Regions from separate parts of the Homo sapiens genome. Here regions 1, 2, 3 and 4 are each linked to region 5. Evidence: promoter capture Hi-C in 16 types of primary human blood cells and fetal thymus (Javierre and others, 2016). All regions are on one chromosome and are shown on one strand. Each heading gives the region's core, a stretch centred on a gene start or on the middle of the fragment in contact. The rest is flanking DNA. Distances are from core to core; before and after follow the strand shown.

Region 1 (2,700 bases), core at 96-2,595, 290 kb before region 5:
CCCAATAGCGCCAGCACAATTCTAGATAAGGCCTCCTATTGGCTTGGATCAAGTCACATGCCTATTCTTGATCCAATTACAGTGCCCAAGAGAATGCAGAGCTCTGACTGGCTAAGCCTAGGTCACATGCCCACTGAAATTCCATGGACTAAGCTTAGAGGAGGGATGGTTCCCCAAATTAAAATCAGGATCCTATGTCTAGAAAAAAATATGCTGCTGGGCGCAGTGGTTCACGCCTGTAATCCCAGCACTTTGGGAAGCTGAGGCGGGTGGATCACCTAAGGTCATGAGTTCGACACCACCCTGGCCAATATGATGAAACCCCTTCTCTACTAAAAATACAAAAAATTAGCCTGGCGTGGTGGTGGGTGCCGTAATCCCAGCTACTCAGGAGGCTGAGGCAGGAGAATTGCTTGAAACCGGGAGGCAGAGGTTGCAATGAGGTGAGATTGTGCTTTGCACTCCAGCCTGGGCAACAAGAGTGAAACTCTGTCTCAAAAAAAAGGAAAAAATATGCTGGGTGAACAAAAGCAACAAGACTTCACAGCCAAACCATAGCTTATCACCTGTATTCTCCAAGCTTTCCCAGGGCATCAGCTTGCTAACTTGACACCTAAAATGACTGAGTGTCACTGTGCACGAGTGCATTAATATGCTACCACTTACTCATCACCTATATATACCCCAGATCTTTGATAAAAGGCCCAATGTTATACCTTCTACTAGTGGCCAATGGTGAAAAGTCACAGCCCCCAAAGCAGAATGAGGGTGGGAGGTTTTTGAGAAAGAACAGCCTTTGAGATGTCTCTCAAAAACCATGCCCCATCAGCAGCTCTTCCTCTGATTCTCAAATAGGACCCTAGCTAAGGCCACACTCTACTTATCCTTAACATTATTTTAATTGCATCATTTAAAGGCAAACACAGCTGTTTGTACAATAAAGACTGAGGTTTTTCATCACAGGGTGTTTGTGTATTTGTGTGCCTGCCTGAGTCTTATTTCAAGCACAAACAGCCCAGCTTGGATTGTTAAAAGACATCCTTTACAGTTTACAAATATACCCCCTCTGTCTTCCACCTACCTCCACCCACCCTTGAGATTTTGAAAGCATTCTGCAAGGATTAAAGAACTGCCACCGCTCTTTCAAACACTCCCTAGAACAGAGTTAAACTCTGTGCTGTGTTTAAAGAAAACCTATAGGTTAGATAACTAAGCCATTCGGCTCACACCAATTGTCCCAATTGCCACAACATTGGCAATGTCCTGCCAAGGAATGACTCAACGTTGTCAAGAATTCAGGGGCAGCTAAAAAAATTAAGAGAGGTCTACCCGCCAACCAAGGATGATTCACCCAATCTGGAAAAGAACATACTGGCAATAAAAGTCAATGGGCTAAAGGCACAGTGTTTGTGAAGCCATACTCTCCCCACCACCACTGAATCTGAATACCTTGATACTTTCTACAACCAGGGTACCAGATGAGTCCTGAGACCACCATGAGTCTGTGCCTACACCTGGGCTCTCCTTTTGTGTGAGGATAATGTGAAAGAGCCACCTTCCTCAGGCAGCTTCATAGAATAGAAAACTCTCAGGTTTGGGGATCAGACAGATCTGGGTTGAAGTCTTGGCTCTACCACTTATTTAATCTGTGACTGTGGGCAAGCCTTAGTCTCCACATCTGTAAAATAGGAATGATATCAACCTTCCAGTTGGCTGTGATGACTTCATAATGTTGACTGTGTACTCACGTAGCATCAGACCCTGGGGGCATAGCAGGGGACCAGATACACAGTCCCCATCATCATACAGCTCTAATTATTTAAGTTGTATAACCGTGTATGCAAAGCAATCATCCCCCATGAAAATGATAGTTATCAGTTATGATGGAGACCTAGAGTTAAGGAATTCCAAAGCCTTACAGCTCTTCGGGCAGGGGGAATGACTGGAGGTGAGGAATCATAGGAGAAGGCCCAGAGGACCTGGGGAAGTAGGCAGAGCTGAAGTTCTCCCTCAGGTGAAAAAATTGTTTGTTGATAAACAATTAGTGAGTGCTGACCCTTAAGTAAGGAAAAGTCTTCATCAAGCCTTACTTGGGGTCATCGGAAGCTTCTCAACCTTAAAACCATTCTGAGTGGTAGATTTTTGTCCTCATTTCACTGATGAGGGAGCCCCGGCACAGAGAGGTTAAGTGCTTTGCTTAAGGTCACACAACTTGTAAGTGATGGAGCTGGAATCAGTACTTGAGTCTGTCTAATGCCAAATCCTATGCTATTAATCCTTGCACCATAGCACCTACTTCTATAGCTCCTGGAAAGGGATGTGAATTTCTCAAGCTCTAAAAAAGGGAGCCCTTTTCCTGAGGTCCACATAGCTGCTGGAGACACTGAGCCCAAAGATTACCCTGAACAAGAGCCACTCTTTATTCATTCAACAAATAGCTATCAGGTGCCAGGCACTGTTTGGCTTTGGGAATACAGCACTGACCAGGATAGACGAAAATCCTGCTAATGCTCTCATGGAATGCTACCTTAGTAGGAAAGAGAGACAATAAACACAATAAATAAAAACATATGGTAGGTTAGATAGTGATAAGAGCCGGGGCAAATATACACAGGGAAGGAGGCGTGTATATTTCGTTGGACAGAAAGCTATAGTTTTTTTTCTTTTTCTTTTTTTGAGATGGAGTCTTGTTCTATCGCC
Region 2 (2,700 bases), core at 180-2,679, 280 kb before region 5:
ATGGCCAGCTAGTAGTAGTAGTAATTGCAGCAGTGGAGGTGATCTAATAATTAGCCGACGCTTTATATTCTACATCTATTCTGTGTATGCGTTATTCACTTTTAAGCTACCTCATTCCCAAAGTGGGATGTTTTTGCCCTTAGACATATACAGTGCTTTACAGATACAAAGCATTTTCACAAACACATCTGCCCCACGACTTGAGCAAGTTCTTCTCTAGCCAAACTCAAGCCTGGCCGATTTTACTCTGAAGGCCAGTGTGGACTCAGCCAGCTGAAGGGAGTCCTCTCCTGCCAAGGCCCATGGCCCTCAGGAACCCTGGCTCCCTCACTGTGAGCCAAGTGGATGCCCAAAGCTCCACCCCTGGAGCTTCTGATTCCTGTGAGCTGGGGCGAGGCCTGGGCTTTGGCAGGGTTCAGAAACTTTCCAGGGGATTCTGAGAACGGACAGTGTGCAAAGTGCCCAACAATAGCTCTACCGGCTGCTGCTTAGGTCAATTTGCTGTAAGTTTTCATTTTGGTACAATGTTAATCTTACAGAAAACTTTCAAGAACTGTACAAAAGAACTCTTGTATTCCCTTTACACCAATCCACCAATGGTTCTCATCTTAACCATTTGCTTAATAATTTTCTTGTGTTTATTTTTATCTAAAAAAAAACATGAAGTAAGCTTTCCTAGTGGGTATGATACAGACTGATAGCAGGACATATATAATATATATTATATAACAAATGCATACATATATTGGGAGACATCCATATATTTGGTGCCCAGCGAATGCACATTGACAGAGATGTGCCACCATAACCTTTGGTGGCAAATTTCATGATCATTTGGAGATGGAGATAAAGGAGGATTGACTGGGACGAGGGACAGAAAAGAAGTTTTGGGGGTGATGAAAACATTCTATATCCCGATTGCGGTTGTGGTTACACAAATGCATACATTTACCAAAACTAATTTGTCTGAATGTACAATTACAATAGGTACATATTATTACATATGATTGCATATAATTTATAATTTGATAAAGTTGATTTTTTAAAAATGTAACTTTTTTTGAAGTGTAGTGGCTTGTTCTAAAGAATCCAGCAGAGGAAAACTGATGCCTGAGGAAGTATGGATTTTATGCCCTGAATTATCATACATTTGTATGGCATTTATTATATGTCAGGCTCTGTTCTAAGCATTTTGCAAGAACGAACTCATGTAATTCTCACAAGCCTATGGTGTAAAGGCATCACAGGCCCCACTTTAGAGATCAGGAAGAGAGGTTAGCTATTGGCCCAAGGTGGCACAGCCAGGAAGTAGAACAACATGACTCTAAACCCTAGCAGGGAGGCACCAGTGCCCCTGCTCTCAGGCACTATGCTAAGTTAGTTCTTTCCATGATAGCCAGAGACCAGGCTCTGCCTTACCGTGCACCACTGCCCCATGGCAGAAGAGCCCCCTGAACTCCAGGGACCAGCCAGTGGACAGAGGGAAGCTGACTGTCCTTGAGGCCTCGCTGTTGAGTACCCAGACCACCAGACTCTCCTCTGCTTCCTGCTTCCCTCCATCCTTGACTCACCAGCTCTGCCAGTCCATCTCTGGAGCTTTCCAACTGCCCAATTTTAGGAGGCATCCAGAGGTGCCATATAGCCTCGCACTGGAAACAGAGTTGGTTGTCTGAACCACTCTGTCTGTCCCTGAGAGATATTAACAGAAAATAAATATCAGCATGTGACATCCTGAAGTTCTGTGTTCCCGGGAGCCAGTACTGGTTTCCTCATATTCCATGTGCTTCCTGTAAGTCAGGGGTCTGTGGCGGGAGAGCACGGAACCAGATCTCAGGCATGGACTTTGCTACTGATTTGCTGTGAGATGTAGGGCTTCTCTTCCCTTCTCTGAGTCTCAGATTTCTCACCCCAAATAATGGGAGGTTAGCCCAGATGTGAGGTTCTTGGCCTGTGGATTGCTAGGAAGTCCACAAATAGGCTTCAAATGTTCTAGGAATCCCCAGCATTTGTATGCATAGTGTTTTGTGTATTTAGATAAAGGAGTCCATATCTCATTTGATTTTCAAAGGGATCACTTTCCCTCTAAAATTTCACATCACTTGCCTGCCAAAGTCTTTTCTAGTTCTAAAATTTGAAGACTTTATGTCTTAATCTAAGTCTTTGCATTGCATATCAGCCTGGAAGCTTCATTTACAGAGAATGGCAAAGGAGACCCAAGGCATCAGTGTTAGAGTCAGAGCTAGCACGTGGTGTCTCCTGACTTATTCATTTATTCAGCATATATCCATTGTAATAAGCATATTTCATTCGAATGATAACTTTTGACCATAGTCCCACATGTGCCAAGAGCCTCTACAATGACCCAGGGCCTAACACAGGACCTAGTGCATAGTAGGAACTCTATAAATATTTGATGAATAAAATAATAATTAGGGTGAGGGCCTTAGGCCTGTAATCCTACCATTTTGGGAGGCTGAGGTGGGCAGATCACTTGAGCCTGGGAGTTTGAGACCAGACTGGCCAACATGGTGAAGCTCCCTCTCTACAAAAAGTCCAAAAAAAAAAAAATAGCTGGGCATGGTGGTGCATGCCTGTAGTCCCAGCTACTCAGGAGGCTGAGATGGGAGGATCACCTGAGCCCAGGCAGGTCAAGGCTGCAGTGAGCTGTGATCACGCCACTGCACTCCAGCAAAGGTGACA
Region 3 (2,700 bases), core at 189-2,688, 330 kb before region 5:
TGAGAGGTTTTTGCAATAGACAGAGTTTAATAAATGCAGAGCCAGCTCAGCAGAAGGATAGGAGTTTATTATTACTTAAATTAGCCTCCCTAAAAATTTGAAGGGCAGGGTTTTTTAAGGACACTTTGGAGGGCAGGGGGCTAGGGAATGGGGCCTACTGATTGGTTGGGTCACAGATGAAAGCACAGGGATTCATAGCTTGTCTTCTTGCACTGAGTCACAGTTCCTGGGTAGGAGCCACAAGACCAGCTCAGCCAGTTTATCCATTTGGGTGGTGTCAGCTGGTTCATCGAGTGCAAGATGTGAAAAATATCTTGAACACCAATCTTAGATTTTACAATAGTGATGTCCTCTATAGGAGCAACTGGGGAGTTAAGGATCTTGTGGCCTCTAGCTGTATGACTTCTGAGCCATAATTTCTAATCTTGTGGCTAATTTGTTAGTTTTACAAAAGAGGTCTGATCCCCAAGGAAGGAGGGGGTTTGTTTCAGGAAAGGGCTGTTATTATCTTTGTTTCAAAGTTAAATTATGAACTTAATCCTTCCATAGTTAGCCTGGCCTAAGCCCAGGAATGAACAAGTGCGGCTTGGAGGTTAGAAACAAGACAGAGTCAGTTAGGTCTGATTTTTCTCACTGTCATAACTTTTGCAAAGGCAGTTTCACCAAACAGGTGAGAATGAGATAAAGTGATGCTCCTTCCAGTGCATACACTATAAATGGAACCCTGTGGAACTCATTTCTTGAAGCCAAAGACCATGGTTAGTGGAGGGAACTTCAGGAAATGTGGTCCATGCAGTGAGAGGTCCCTGAGCCCTCACTGGACTGGAAGATCTGTGAGAGGAAGGCCAAGCTTGACTTTGTCACTGCTTTACCCCAAACCTTGGCACTGGGTCTGGGCCTTAGGAGATACTCAGCATGGTTTTATTTTTCCAGTAACAGTGAATGAGGAAATTAATGGGTAAATAAAACTGGGCCCTTTAAATAACACAAAGCAGACGGCTTTGGGCATCTTGTGGGAAATAGCATGTTATATTCTATGTGTGCACCAAACAAGTTGGTTTTGTCTTTTGGCACCCCTTCATTTGGAAGAACTACGTCTCCCTCATTCCTTGTAGTCTGAGAGGCTTTAAACTACTGTGTCTTTCCCCACTGGCCACAGGAGTGGGCATGTGACCCAGGCTGAGCCAGCCATAGTACTACATCTTTTGTACCTATGTCTAGTTCAGATGTGGGCAGAGAACCCAAGCAGGGTCGGTGAGAATTCTTCCATGAGATTTGCACATGGACACAAAGAGAGAAAGGGCTTCTCTCCTTTGACTCACAAGCCCCCAGCCATCCTTCCCGCCAGCTGGAGATATTTTGCCTGAGAATAAAGCCATAGAGGCAGGGCCCACCCGGAGCTGGCCTGTCTTCAGTATTTTAACCCCTGGACACCACTTTGCTGAAAGGCAGATCTACCCTAGAACTTCCCAATTAGGAAAGTCAATAAATTATTTTCTCCCCCTCAAGTTTGTTTGAATTGGGTGTATGGCCCTTGCAACAAGGAATCCTGTTCATTTCAGTTTGAATGTTTTCCATACGTGTTTCATCTTATGACATCGACTATTTTTGAGAGTACACAAAAAATGTATTCTGCACATCTTTGTATGCAATGCACCAAGACACAGCATAAAAATCTGGAGAGAAAGAATTTAAAAAGCCAGTTTGTCCTTAAGGGACATTCTAATGGAGGTGAAGAGTTGGGGGAAGGGAAGAATTCCATTTAATGAGTATTTTAAAATGATCTGCTATGCGCCAGATGTTTTCACAAGTAATTGCAATTAATCATCACCAATCTTGTAAAGAAGATATTGTTATGGCCACTTTATAGATAAAACTATGGTTCAGAAGGGTTAAATAACATGCCTAAGACAGCCCAGCTATTAAGAGCTAAAACAAGACTTCAGATTCAGATGTCTAACTTCAAGGTCAGTGTCCTTACTACTGCACAATCCTGCCTCCTGGACAGGAGATAAGACAAGCTTAAGAATATGATAAGGAAAAAAAAAAAAGAAAGGAATTCATACACGAATCTGTTCAGAAAATACTTAGTGTCTGAATAAGTTTTTCACAAACGTTAGTGAGTAACATTTCACTTATTCAGGCCCTTATTTCACTTATTTTCACAAACATTATTCATTAATGTTTGTGAAAATACTTCTTAAACTAGTTATACATCACATAAATGTAAAACATTGTCAACATGTGCAAGGCATCATGCTAGGCACTGCAGAAGAAGGGACATAAAGATGAATAAAATAGCCTTTTTCCCCAGGGGCATACAATAGAGTAGACCTAGAAATATTACATGGCAAAGTATGATTAATGGCATAGGAGAAGTTCAAAGTGCTGGGAGAGTTCTGAGCAGGAAATGTTTACATCTGATTGAGGGAGCCGGAAAGACTTCATGGAAAAAATCTATTAGGTAAGTGCGAATAAATGTATTGATAATGGTGTGCTTACTAAGGTGCCTGTAGGAATTTGGAAGGAGTGAAAAAGAAAAATGAAAAAGAAAAGAAGGGAGGGAAAGTAGGGAGGGAGAGAAGAAGAGAGAGAGAGAGAGACAGTGAGGTAGAGGGAGAGAGGAGGAAAGGAAGGAGGGAAGGAAGGAAGGAAGGAAAAGAGAGAAAAAGAAAGAGAAAAAGAAAGAAAGAAAAGGAA
Region 4 (2,700 bases), core at 115-2,614, 260 kb before region 5:
TCTATAAAAGAACACATTCAAATCATTCTAAGAGTCAAGGGCCCAGAAGCCAGACTAGTGGGTGATGGTCACAAAAGCGTCAACGGATGGGAAAACAGTCCTAGCTCCTTCCCTCTCCGATGGTGGATTCCCAAGTCTTTCTCTTCTGTGGCCCCTTTACCTGGCTTTCAGAAACCCAAAGACCTCACTCATGGAAGCTCAGAATTCATTCAATAAACACTGAGCGCCTACTATGTGCCAGGCTCTATTCTAGGCGTAAAATAAAGGATTTGCCTTCAGAGTGTGACCCACCAAGGCCAGTTTCCTGCCTGAACAGGGGTATTTTGAGCATTGCTGATCAAGTGTGTTTTTCTGGCGCTTAGCACCCCCATTCCCCTGGTCCAGAGAGGCAGAAACCATCCCCCCACCACCACCAAGGCAGCGGGTTGGGGGCGAGGAGAGGCGGGCAGTACCTGTGATCAAAGCGGTGAGGGAGGCTAGTAGGACGCAGGCGGCAGGAGCGGGTGGGCCAGGCCCGACTCGGCCACTGCTGGGGTAGGGACTAGGTGGGATGGGGTGGGGGCACTGCTGGTGGGGACGGGGTGGGGTAGAAGCGGCGCTGCCCGCAGCCGCCTGGGCCTCTGCGCGCCTGATCTCCGAGCTGCGCTCGCCCGCTCCCCGCCTGCGGGGGCCGTCGCGGAGCCCTGCTCTCCATACTGAGCAGTCCCCGGGAGGTGCTCGGACACGTCCCCAGGCTGGATAAAGATCGGCTCGGCTCTAGCTCCGTAGTCGAAATCTCGCCATCAGCGCGGCTCGCTCGGCCGCTTTGGCCCGGCCCGGCGACGCCAGATCGCTATCCTGGGGGGAAATGGGAAGGCAGTGCAGCCGCTCCCGCCTCCACCCTCGGTCCTGCGCGCAGGGGTGGCCGCGGGGTCCTGGGGCTCGCCGCCCTCCCCTCCCCCTTCGCGTTCCTTCCCTGCGCTGCCTCCCGAGGGACCCTCGCTTCCCTCCGGCCTGGGGCCCCCAGCGCCCAGCCAGGCGCCCTCTCCCCTCCTCGCCAGGCCTCGCTGCCGCCTGAAGGTTACGCGACGCAGTGGCGGGGCGCGGGGGGCGCCCGCCCTCGCCGCCGCCTTCGCCGCCGCCCACCCCAGTGGCCGCCGCGCCGCGCCGGGCCAGCCTGGCTGCCGGCTGCTGCCACCGCAATCCCGGCTCCTAAATCAGCGCGGGGAGGCGCTCCCTCCCCACGCCCGGCTCTCCGGGCTCTCGGGGCCGCGATTGGCCGCGCCGGCGCCCCCCACCCCGGGCCCCCGGCTCCAGCTGCCGCGCCATTGGCTGCGGGCCTCCGCCAGCCTTTACATAAGACCGGGCGCGCTCGAGTGGAGTTGTATAAAGCGAGCGCGCGGCGTCGGGGCGGGAGGCTCGAGGCCAGCCCGGGACCGGGGCTGGGAGCAAGCAGGCGGCGGCGCCGGCGGCAGAGGCGGCAGCGAGCGCCCGCTTCCCACGCCCCTAGGCGGCGGGGCCGAGAGCGGGAGGATGGCTCCGAGCGCTGACCCCGGCGTGAGTATCTGCACCGGTGCCCCCCACCCTAAGGCGGAGAAAGTTTCTCCAGCTCTGCGCGCCCCCCCGGATCCGCCCGCAAGGGTGGCGGGGACGCCGCCCGGGAACCCGGGAAGACTGGGATCGCGAAGGCGGCGGCTTCGCTCCTAACTTGCTGGGAGGCGCTGGACTCGATTGGCGCGCGGAGCCTCCCCCGCGGGCTGGGGGTGAGGCGGCGGCCGGGTTGGAGGTGGCGGAGAGGTGGGAGCTGATGTGTGGGGGCGACAGCCAGCAGCTGGCAGAGAAAGTGTTGGGGGCGCACTGGAGGTCAGCTGTCAGGGGAGGGGGCCTCTGGGGCCTGGAGGGGGCGGAGCGGGTGAGGAGGGATGTGCCGGGCTATCGGGAGAGTCTCCCAGTCAGCCAGGCTGAGACCCGGGCCTGGGAAGCCACTGGCCTCGGCCGAGTGCCTACGCTTCCAGGCTGGGGAAGAGCCCCGCGGGCTGGCTCTTCCTCCCCTGGGAAGCCGAGTTCCCGGGCACAGCGCTGGGTGGCAGAGAGCTCCGGGAGCCAGCCCCGCGCGCGGCGTAGCTGCTAGCCGCCTTATGCTGGACGAGGTGTGGTCTTCCCTTCAGGCTGCCTGAGGCAAGCCGGCTTCAGGCATTCCAGGGGAACCCTGAGTCCTCCTCGACCCCGTGGGGGCACTTGGAGGCTTTGATGGGGCAGCCAGGCCGGGCTTGGGGGCATGCCCAGCAATGCAGCGCGCTTCTTTGCAGTACAGTAGTTGGGAGCCCTGGTTAGTCCCGCTTCTGCAGAAAGCAACTCAAGAATCCAAAGTCATCCCAGCCTGGATGGAAGCCTCCCAGAGTGGCGGGGAAATTCTCCTAGGGTTGAGAGCTGGGGGGGCTTCCTCCAGGAATGACTAATGAATATTGCTGCTGCTGCCGCCGCCGCCGCCGCCGCCGCCGCCGCCGCCGCCGCTGCTGCTGCTGGTGGGTGCACCCAGTGTGGCTTCTGCACATCCCAGGAGATGCTTCCGTTCTCCTGACAGGACACATTCTTGAGTTGCACTTGAGGTGTCTTCTGGGATGGGTGCAGGACTTTCCACGTGAAGCCAAGTGGAAAAGAAGGGAAGAGGGTCCCAGGACAGGGGACAGTTCTATAGTGTTTTCTTGAGTCAGGGGAGAA
Region 5 (2,700 bases), core at 100-2,599:
CCTAGGAGACACCTCCCCAAGGTACCCTCCCCACCAAAGACTGGGAGGTCAGGTGTCAGGCTAGGCTCTCAGGAAGGAATTCCCCTCCCTTCAAGCCTCCAGTCCAAATTCCTCTCAAGGGAGAGCCAATGAAAGGCAGGACTCAGACAGGAGAGAAAGACACCAAGCATGGGGCTCCTGAAGGTCCCCTCCCCTCTGATGCTTGCCTGGGTGCCCTGCTCAGACACACCATCAATTCCCCCTCTTCCCACTGTGTTCCCTACCATGGGTTGGAAGTTATCTTACCACAGAGTGGTTAAGCCCTGGCCTTTGTAGCCCAACATCTGGATTCAAATCCTAGCTCCTTCACATATGAGCTGTGTGGCCAAGGGCCAGTTACTCCACTTCTCTGAACTCCCTATCCCCTTGGTCATTAGGCCTACAGACTCAGAATCCAGGCCTCCTGGTTGTTTCTGGGCTCTGACTCTCGAAAAAGACTATCTGGGTTCAAATCCCAGCTCTAATCTGTGCTTAACCTCTCTGCCGCAGGATCTTTATCTGTAAGGTGGGGACAATAATAGTACCTACCCACCATCTAGCCTTATTGTGAGAATTAGCTGAGGGAGTTTATGCAATGTGCTCAGATCAGACTTGGCACACAATTAGCACCCACTAAGTATTGGCTATCATTAGCAATAGCTGATAAGCTTGGAACGTACCTTGCACCGCACCTTGCACCGCACCTTGCACCTTGCACCGTCCCTGGCAGGTAGTAAGAGCTCACTAAATAGAAGCTATGATTACCTTCACCCCCACTAGACTATCCTGGCCCTGGAGGTGGGTTCTGGGTCATATCCATCTTTGATTCCCCAGCAGCCAGCATGGGGCCTGGCACCAAGCTCAATGAAGACCTGCCAGGAGGACCAGAAGATCCAGGGTGTGGGGTGGCACGAGCCTCCCACCAGGGAGAAGAGGAACCGAGGTGTCGGGGAAGAGAAAACAGAGCAGAGGGAGAAAAGCCAAGGCAGAGAGATAAGCAAGTGAAGTGAGTGAGAAAAGGAACAGGAGAGGCTGTGGCGGAGAGAGATAAGGAGGAAGGATGGAGAAGGCGAGGGTCGAGGAAAATGCCCAGGGAGGCAGGGAGCCCTGGGGAGAAACGCTGGGCGAGGCCAGGGCTGCGGCAGGGGAGCCGAGCCGGGAGAGGGGCGCAAGACCTGGCGCTGGGCGGGACGCTCGGGCAGGGTGCGGGAGGGGCTGAGGGCCGCCCCCACTGCCTCCCCGCCTTGGAGCTGGGGCCAGGCGGCCGGAGATTGGCTGGGGCGCACGGCGAGGCCCGGGCTGGAGCCCCGAGGTGGGAGGCGCCAGGATCAGTCGGGGCGCCCGCAGCGCAGGCTGCCACCCACCTGGGCGACCTCCGCGGCGGCGGCGGCGGCGGCTGGGTAGAGTCAGGGCCGGGGGCGCACGCCGGAACACCTGGGCCGCCGGGCACCGAGCGTCGGGGGGCTGCGCGGCGCGCACCTGGAGAGGGCGCAGCCATGCGGGCGGCGGCGGCGGGGGGGGGCGTGCGGACGGCCGCGCTGGCGCTGCTGCTGGGGGCGCTGCACTGGGCGCCGGCGCGCTGCGAGGAGTACGACTACTATGGCTGGCAGGCCGAGCCGCTGCACGGCCGCTCCTACTCCAAGCCGCCGCAGTGCCTTGACATCCCTGCCGACCTGCCGCTCTGCCACACGGTGGGCTACAAGCGCATGCGGCTGCCCAACCTGCTGGAGCACGAGAGCCTGGCCGAAGTGAAGCAGCAGGCGAGCAGCTGGCTGCCGCTGCTGGCCAAGCGCTGCCACTCGGATACGCAGGTCTTCCTGTGCTCGCTCTTTGCGCCCGTCTGTCTCGACCGGCCCATCTACCCGTGCCGCTCGCTGTGCGAGGCCGTGCGCGCCGGCTGCGCGCCGCTCATGGAGGCCTACGGCTTCCCCTGGCCTGAGATGCTGCACTGCCACAAGTTCCCCCTGGACAACGACCTCTGCATCGCCGTGCAGTTCGGGCACCTGCCCGCCACCGCGCCTCCAGGTAGCGCCGCCGCCGCCGTCCCCGCGCGCTCCGACGGCCCTGCAGCTCCCCTAGCACAGCTCTGCGAACCCCCCAAGAGGTGCAGCTCCCCCCCTCCGCCCACACACACACACACACGCTGTCCTAGCTCAGCCCAGCGTCCCCGGAATTATCCCCCGCAGCCTTCCCGCCTTCCCACCTCCCCAGGGAGTGGCAGCATAGTGCCTCCCGGCGGCTCCAGACCTTCCCTCTGGCTCTCGTTCCCTGGAAACCCCTGGCACCCCTCTCAGTACCCATCCAACCAAGCTGCTGAGAATCCCCCAATGCCGTCCCCCCAATCCTGGGACGTCCTGATAAATGCCTTATGACCCCTCTCAGCCCAAGAATGCCTGGGGTCGTTAAACAATGCCTTTCACCTGGATCCCGAGGCACCAAAGCAAGCATCATCCCCACTCCGTGTTGGGACCTTGGGAAGAGAGGAGAGGTGAGGGAAGGGATGTGGAGAAAGACTGGGGACTAAGAATGTTCTGGACTATGATCTGCGTCCCCGTTTTCTGTACCTGGAACCCTAAGATCTCCACCCTCTTCCCCAGTTCCCCTGGCTGGGAGTCATTCGGGTAAGGCTCAGTGCGGAAGGAAGAGCAGATTAGGCTCTGCCCCTGAAGAGAAGCCCTTAGG

Evidence for each region. The method cuts DNA at HindIII sites, captures the fragments that hold promoters and counts their contacts. A CHiCAGO score of 5 or more calls a contact.
Region 1: a contact is called between a fragment that was not itself captured here and the fragment with the promoter of SFRP5 in region 5, in 1 of 17 cell types (M0 macrophages). The highest score is 5.1, in M0 macrophages.
Region 2: a fragment that was not itself captured here is called in contact with the fragment with the promoter of SFRP5 in region 5 in 4 of 17 cell types (M2 macrophages, M1 macrophages, M0 macrophages and 1 more); the score reaches 8.3 in M2 macrophages.
Region 3: a fragment that was not itself captured here is called in contact with the fragment with the promoter of SFRP5 in region 5 in 2 of 17 cell types (M1 macrophages and M2 macrophages); the score reaches 5.6 in M1 macrophages.
Region 4: a contact is called between the fragment with the promoter of CRTAC1 here and the fragment with the promoter of SFRP5 in region 5, in 1 of 17 cell types (M2 macrophages). The highest score is 5.2, in M2 macrophages.

What each region holds. Positions count from the first base shown.
Region 1 is chr10:98,064,750-98,067,449 of GRCh38, reverse strand. No RefSeq gene overlaps it. Among named protein-coding and RNA genes, the nearest start is that of CRTAC1, 35 kb to the right of the region's middle. The HindIII fragment of the contact is 1,526 bases long and covers 583-2,108 here.
Region 2 is chr10:98,048,091-98,050,790 of GRCh38, reverse strand. No RefSeq gene overlaps it. Among named protein-coding and RNA genes, the nearest start is that of CRTAC1, 19 kb to the right of the region's middle. The HindIII fragment of the contact is 1,514 bases long and covers 673-2,186 here.
Region 3 is chr10:98,104,285-98,106,984 of GRCh38, reverse strand. No RefSeq gene overlaps it. Among named protein-coding and RNA genes, the nearest start is that of R3HCC1L, 29 kb to the left of the region's middle. The HindIII fragment of the contact is 1,171 bases long and covers 853-2,023 here.
Region 4 is chr10:98,029,285-98,031,984 of GRCh38, reverse strand. It overlaps CRTAC1 (cartilage acidic protein 1), which reads left to right and starts at 1,364. Exons shown (of 15, transcript NM_018058.7): 1 at 1,364-1,536. The coding sequence starts at 1,513. The HindIII fragment of the contact is 20,576 bases long and covers 1-2,700 here.
Region 5 is chr10:97,770,648-97,773,347 of GRCh38, reverse strand. It overlaps SFRP5 (secreted frizzled related protein 5), which reads left to right and starts at 1,349. Exons shown (of 3, transcript NM_003015.3): 1 at 1,349-2,043. The coding sequence starts at 1,515. The HindIII fragment of the contact is 8,141 bases long and covers 689-2,700 here.